Regions from separate parts of the Homo sapiens genome. Here region 2 is linked to region 1. The links are contacts of gene promoters, found by promoter capture Hi-C in blood cells and fetal thymus (Javierre and others, 2016). All regions are on one chromosome and are shown on one strand. The core of a region is centred on a gene start or on the middle of the fragment in contact, and the rest is flanking DNA. Distances in the headings are between cores, read along the strand shown.

What was found. Contacts are between HindIII fragments. The CHiCAGO score rates a contact against its expected background, and 5 or more counts as called.
Region 2: a fragment that was not itself captured here is called in contact with the fragment with the promoter of PRELID3A in region 1 in 2 of 17 cell types (naive CD8 T cells and total CD8 T cells); the score reaches 7.3 in naive CD8 T cells.

Annotation. Positions count from the first base shown.
Region 1 is chr18:12,406,338-12,409,910 of GRCh38, reverse strand. It overlaps PRELID3A (PRELI domain containing 3A), which reads right to left and starts at 1,982. Exons shown (of 7, transcript NM_001142405.2): 1 at 1,904-1,982. The coding sequence starts at 1,935. RefSeq lists enhancers at 1,155-1,404, 1,262-1,921, 1,922-2,583 and a silencer at 1,605-2,184. The HindIII fragment of the contact is 9,540 bases long and covers 72-3,573 here.
Region 2 is chr18:12,919,879-12,923,451 of GRCh38, reverse strand. No RefSeq gene overlaps it. Among named protein-coding and RNA genes, the nearest start is that of SEH1L, 26 kb to the left of the region's middle. The HindIII fragment of the contact is 1,041 bases long and covers 1,100-2,140 here.

The sequences.
Region 1 (3,573 bases), core at 733-3,232:
CAAAACTTAATGAATTATACACTTAAAATGTGTATAATTTTATGGTATGTAAAGTATCCTTCGGTAAAGCTTAAAAAAAATAAATGGGAGTTAGCAGCTGCAACAATTTTCAAAAGCATCAACTGTGATTTTTCACAGCTAGCTATTCATTTGTGCTTGTCCACAGACATTTCACAAACCTCTAGGGCAGACCTCGGCCATTCCATGAGAAAACTGAGCCCCAACCACCTGGCACTCCTGGTATGCAATGACTTAACTGTCCACAGCATCCAGACGGCTCAGTGATGCCCCCATCCTTGTTGCTGATGGAAACCCACTTGAGAAACACTGCAAGCCATACAAAAAATTAGATCCCATCAAGTCTAAAGACTTCATGAAAAATAATTTCAGAGGTTTTGAAACCACTTGATATATTTTTATTATAATTTTACATGTTTAAAGTCAGGCCAGTCACGGTGGCTCACACCTATAATCCCAGCACTTTGGGAGGCCGAGGCGGGTGGATCACCTGAGGTCAGGAGCTCGAGACCAGCCTGGCCAACATGGCGAAACCCTGTTTCTACTAAAAATACAAAAATTAGCCGGGCGTGATGGCCCACACCTGTAGTCCCAGCTACTCAGGAGGCTGAGGCACGAGAATCACTTGAACCCAGGAGGGGGAGGTTACAGTGAGCCAAGATCGCGCCATTGCACTCCAACCTGGGTGACCCAGCGAGCCTATGTCTCAAAAAAAAAAAAAAAAAAAAAAAAACCCAGCCTGGGTGACAGAATGAGACTCTGTCTCGAAAAAAATAAATAAAAAGAGTCAAAGGATGACAATTTCCTTCCACGCAGTACTTTTTTTCCCCCCAAAATAAAATATTTAATGCTTAAGTGAGGTCAGATAATTAAAAAATCTTTGTTGCTGTAAATAAACATTAAAGAATAATTTCAGTGTGTCACAGATCACTGACTTAAGGAAAAGATACCACTTAGGTTAGGAGGGCACTTTTTTCTTCTTTTTATTTGCACAATTCTATGGAGTATATGTGCAATTTCGTTACATGCATAAATTTCGTAGTGGTCAAGTCAGGACTTCTAGGGTATGCATTACCCGGGAAGGTGTCTTGCACCCATTAAGCAATTCTCATTATCCTCCCTGCACCCACCCCCTCACCCTTCAGAGTCTCCATCATCTGACGTTCCACTCTCCACATCCATGTGAACACATTCTTAAGCACCCACTTAGGAGTGGGAACATGCGATACTTGTCTTTCTGGGCCTGGCTTCACTTAAGATAATGACCTCCACTTCCATCCGTGTGCCGGGGGAGCATTTTTAAACAGTTCGAGGTTTTCCACGCTAGCTTGGAGGCCTTCCATGCCTACAAGTGAGTTCAGAGCCAGGGCCCCCGAAATGCCTTCTGCCCCTTTAGCTTCCTCCAGAGCTCACAGCCCGCCGTGGGCCCTCCGTGAAACGCGCGGAAGGTTTATGACAATCTCAGCAAAGGCGCCAGCTTGCAGGCCTCTCCCCTGCCCTGCTCCCGACCCCAAGGAGAGCAGCGAGCGCCAGGCCCCCGGCCGCCCCCCCGGCTCCGGCCGCCCCCGCCCCGGCCGCCCCCGCTCCGGCTGCCCCCGCCCTGGCTGTCGACCACCAGCGGGGCCTCTGTGCCTGCAGCCAGGCCCCTGCGCACGCCGGGGGAGAGGCCGTACCCGGCGCAGAGCCTCGCCCAGACCGCGGTCCCGGGGAAGCGCGCGTGCCCTCTCCGGGACGCCGAAGTTGCGGTCTGGGAACGGCCGGCGCGGGGCGGGGATCTCCGCGAGGCCCGCTGTGAGGTCCGGCCTTTCCTGGACCGCTCCAGCCGGGCTCGGGAGCAGGAGCCGGCGTCTGGACGGCCCCACCGCGGCCCTCAGCCCGGCCTCACCCAAACACGTGCTCCGAGCTCCAGATCTTCATTGCCGCCGGCGCAGGGCGCGGGCTCTGCGATCCGGGCCGGGTGCTTCGGGCCGCGCGGCTCCGGGCGCGGCGTGGGCGGGGCCTCGATGGGCGGGGCGCCCTTGGATGCCGCCCACCCCGTCTGGTGGCTAGGCTGGCTGCAGCGGCTAAAAATAGCTCTGCGGGCGCGGCTGTGGCGCAGCCCCAGACCTGCGCTGCTACCCTGGGGTGCGCGATGCGCGCTTGCTGCAGATGCCGCGGGCGTAGGAGGCGACGCTCGTCCTTACTCCCACTGTCCAAATTCTCCCAAGGCCCTGTCCAGCTACGCCGGTTTGTACTGTCGGGGACGTGTGATGAAAAACAAACCTGCCAACCCTCAAAACTCCACTGCAGTTTGGGTCTTGAACAAACATTAAACCAGCATGTGAGGCCGGGCGCGGTGGCTCACGCCTGTAATCCCAGCACTTTGGGAGGCCGAGGCGGGCGGATCACGAGGTCAGGAGATCAAGACCATCCTGGCTAACACGGTGAAACCCCGTCTCTACTAAAAATACAAAAAATTAGCCGGGCGTGGTGGCGGGCGCCTGTAGTACCAGCTGCTCGGGAGGCTGAGGCAGGAGAATGGCGTGAACCCGGGAGGCGGAGCTTGCAGTGAGCCGAGATCCCGCCACTGCACTCCAGCCTGGGCAACAGAGCGAGACTCCGTCTCAAACAAAACAAAACAAAACAAAACAAAACAAAACAAAACCAGCATGTGATGTGCATCACAAGCAATCCGCCAAATAGGCTGCAAAGACAGAAATCTCAGCCTGTATCAAACAGCCGGGAGGATGCAACCTACCCCACGCATGCTCCCGAGGTAAACGAGACAGCCCTCCGGGGAGGGGACTCCACTACACCATTTGTCGCAGAGTTCATCCTAAATTCGCCTGATGATGGAGTGGCCATTGGTAAATGCAGTGGCCATTTGCGTTTGCTAATTGCCTTTATCCAAAGGAAAAATGAATTTTCATACCTTTATGACAGGAGGTAGGTTTACAATTTGAAGCCAGGTGCTCTCTGGTAGCTGGGCTCCTACCCTCCCACAAAACTGGGAGACGGGGATGACATTTCAAAGAGATGACTCCCAAGTCCTTGAGAAAATACATTCTTGAGTTATAAAACTGGGGGGAAATCTTATTTAGCTTTAAAAAAATGTACGTGTATCTCAAAAAGAATTTGTGATTACAACTTGGCAAATCCTCTAAGGAAAAAGAGTCTCCCTTTCGCATAAACTACTTTTTAGCTTTGCAAAGTACCCTGCACTGCCACAAACGAAGTTGAAGTGCACGGAAGTGAGATGCTTGTTCTAAGAAGAGGGTACTCTTCTCCAGGATGAGATAGGGCGAGAGGGCAGGGCCCTTGTCTGAGTCGGCTGAGTCTCAGCCTAGAGCAGCGCCTGGCGCCCCTGGGGCGTCCGTGGGCGTGGGGAGCGCATTTGTGCAGTGAGGCAGGGAAGTGGAAGAGCACACAGCATGACCCGAAAGACCTGGGCTACAGTCCTGGCTCCACCGTCCACTCACATTGACCTCTACCTCCTACAGCGTTAAGCTCAGGATGATCTTCCAAAGTTGGTGCTATTCTTCCCGTTTTACAAATGAGTTAACTGAAGTTCAAGCA
Region 2 (3,573 bases), core at 371-2,870, 510 kb before region 1:
GGTCTTCCAAAGTGCTGGGATTACAGGCATGAGCCACAGCGCCTGGCCCCAGCTAACTTTTTATTTTGTACAGATGGGCTCTCACTTTGTTACCCAAGCTGGTCTTTAACTCCTGGCTTCAAATGATTCTCCCGCCTCAGCCTCCCAAAGCGCTGAGACTACAAGTGTGAATCACGGCACCCAGCCCAAATACAGGCTATTTGGATGGCAGTACTTGTGGAGTGTAAGTTACAGCATAGAACTGCTTTCCCCTACTAGATCTGCCCTTCAGGTCCCATATTTTGAATAGGATAATCTTGGGTTTCCCTGCTACCTATTTTGTATTAAGTCCTCCAGTAAAGAGCGCCTTCTGCTTTCCTTGACCCTGTTTTTCAGTATCCTTTCAATATCCTTCAGTATCCTTCTTCATTGTCCTACTTGGCCAATTCTACTTGCGACTAAATCAATATGCCTACCACCAACCTGTGCGTCTTCCTAATTGTCACTGGTGTACCTTTTTTCACCTTGTGACTGTCTGGGACATCTCTGTCCATTGGAGCTTATGATCTCTGATAAGTCTTCTAATTACCAGTGTTCCATTCTGATACATATGTCAAGTGAAGAGACCTCACTTTATTTTTAAACCTCTTAAGGGTTGAAGTAGGATTTGGTATATCAGGAAACAACGGAACTAATTCTAAAACTATACCTTTATAATTATATTGAACTGAAATATAATATTGTTTGTAGAATGGAATTGGTATAAAGTGAATTTGGTTTTTTACCACATTTAATATTATGTATCCATCAGCTTTTTTGGGTTGCAATCATAAACAGAGACAAGATTTACTGGAGAGCTTTTGGAGCTCACAGAATCAACAGGAGCCTAGAGAATAGGAGGGAAGCAAGGGAGCTTTGGAAGCAATGGAAACTGTTATCATTCATGTATTCATTCAGTAAGCATTTAGTGAGCATTTACTATGTGCCAGTATTTTAACCAGTTTTCTACTGGCAGGCATCCAATTTGTTGCTGTTATAAACAGTGCAATCTAATGAATAAAATTTAAAAAAATCATTTTCTAGAGATGTATTTTTTTTTCCACGAATTATTTACTAAGCTTACTGGCATACTGTTTTTCATTTGAGGGGAATTTGAGGACAGGTCTTTGTATATGATCTTGAACTCTATAATGCTAAACTTCATTGCCTTGAGTGATACATTGACTTCTGCAAATGAGTCATTAAGACAAAATATTTATTTATTTATTTATTTATTTATTTATTTATTTATTTATTTATTGAGATGGAGTCTCACTTTGTTGCCCAGGCTGGAGTGCAGTGGTGTGATCTCAGCTCACTGCAACCTCCACCTCCCGGGTTCAAGTGATTCTCATGCTTCAGCCTCCCACGTAGCTGGGATTACAGGCGTGCACTACCACGCCCAGCTAATGTTTTGTATTTTTGGTAGAGACAGAGTTTCACCATGTTGGCCAGGCTGGCCTAGAACTCTTGACCTCAGACGATCTACCTGCCTCGGCCCCCCAGAGTGCTGGGATTACAGGCATGAGCTACCGTGCCTGGTCTATTGTTTATGGAAATGTCCCATAGTTAATTTTTTTTCTTAAGCAGCTAAAATATGAACTTTGATGTGCTTATGAAGGCTTTTTTGGTAAACACCTGCCTATTTTGCTGTTGAAATGCCTAAAAGATTACTGTAAGAGAGGCTGATTGATAGCATAAATGGGGAGTCTTTTCCTCCTTTACCAATCAATGCTACCTGCTTGGAAACTAATAAGCCTGTTACGCATCAAGAGCCTTATAAGTGTGACTTAGGCAAAGCTGGTGAGTAGACAGTTACTGTGGGTCATTTTCCTTGACAACACAGAGACCACTGAAGCTAACAGGAAGACGTTCTGGTGCTGATACAGAGAGGAAAGTCAACATAAAAACGCTCTCAGTGATGTGCACATTCCATCCCTGTTCGGTGTCCTCCTTGTGCTACACGCAGATAGCTGAGGTGTCATGGCTTAGGTGCTGCAAGGTGACTGTATTAAGCCCAGACACCCTCGCTCTCATGACAGCCCCCGAGTATGATACTGAGAGTGTGAAAGGGAAAGTGTATTTTTCTATGACCTGTGGTTTCTTCTGGCCTCACAAAGCTTTAGGCTTGTTTGTGTTTGACTTTTTGCTGTTTTTGCACTTTCAGAGCACTGTTTGTGGTTTGGAGGTGAAACTTTTCTTTAAAGTTCTTGTTAACATTTAGTTTGGCACAAAGTTTGCAAATAGGCGTGAAAAACATAGCACCATTTTCACTGTGAAGGAGGCTAAGTGGTTTCAGCAGCTTTTATTTATTTTTTTTTTTAATTTTTATTTCCATAGGTTACTGGGAAACAGGTGCCGTTTGGTTACATGAATAAGTTCTTTAGCGCTGATTTCTGAGATTTTGGTGCACCTATCATCCGAGCAGTACGCACTGCACCCAATTTGTAGGTTTGTTTGTTTTTCACTGAGTCTCGCTCTGTCAACCAGGCTGGAGTGCAGTGGCACGATCTCGGCTCACTGCAACCTCCGTCTCCCGGGTTCAAGCGATTCTCCTGCCTCAACCTCCCAAATAGCTGGGATTACAGGTGCTTGCTACCATGCCCGGCTAATTTTTGTATTTTTAGTGGAGATGGGGTTTCACCGTGTTGGGCAGGCTGGTCTTGAACTCCTGACCTCACCTCGGCCTCCCAAAGTGCTGGGATTACAGGCGTGAGCCACCGTGCCTGGCCTAATTTGTAGTATTTTATCCCTCATCCCCTTCCCACCCCTTGCCCTTTATCCCCCAAAGTCCATTGTGTTATTCTTATGCCTTTGCATCCTCATAGCTTAGCTCCCACTTATGAGTGAGAACATATGATGTTTGGTTTTCCATTCCTGAGTTACTTCACTTAGAATAATAGTCTCCAGTCTCATCCAGGTTGCTGCAAATGCCATTAATTCATCCTTTTTTATGGTTGAGTAGTATTGCATTGTATATATATATATATGTATATATATATTATATATGTATGTATATATATATGTATATATCACAGTTTCTTTATCCACTTGTTGATTGATGGGCATTTGGGTTGGTTCCACATTTTTGCAATTGTGAATTGTGCTGCTATAAACATGCGTGTGCAAGTATCTTTTTCGTATAATGACTGTTTTCCTCTGATAGATACCCAGTGGTGGGATTGCTGGATCAAATGGTAGTTCCACTTTTAGTTCTTTAAGGAATCTCCACACTGTTTTCCACAGTGGCTGTATAGTTTACATTCCCACCAGCAGTGTAGAAGCGTTCCCTGTTCACCGCATCCATGCCAACATCTATTATTTTTCAATTGTTTTTATTATGGCCATTCTTGCAGGATTGTGGTATCACATTGTGGTATCGCATTGTGGTTTTGATTTGCATTTCCCTGATAATTAGTGATGTTAAGCATTTTTTCATATGTTTGTTGGCCATTTGTATATCTTCTTCTGAGAATTGTCTGTTCATGTCCTTTAGCCCACTTTTTGATGGGATTGTTTGTTTTTTTCTTCCTAATTTGTTTGAGTTCATTATAG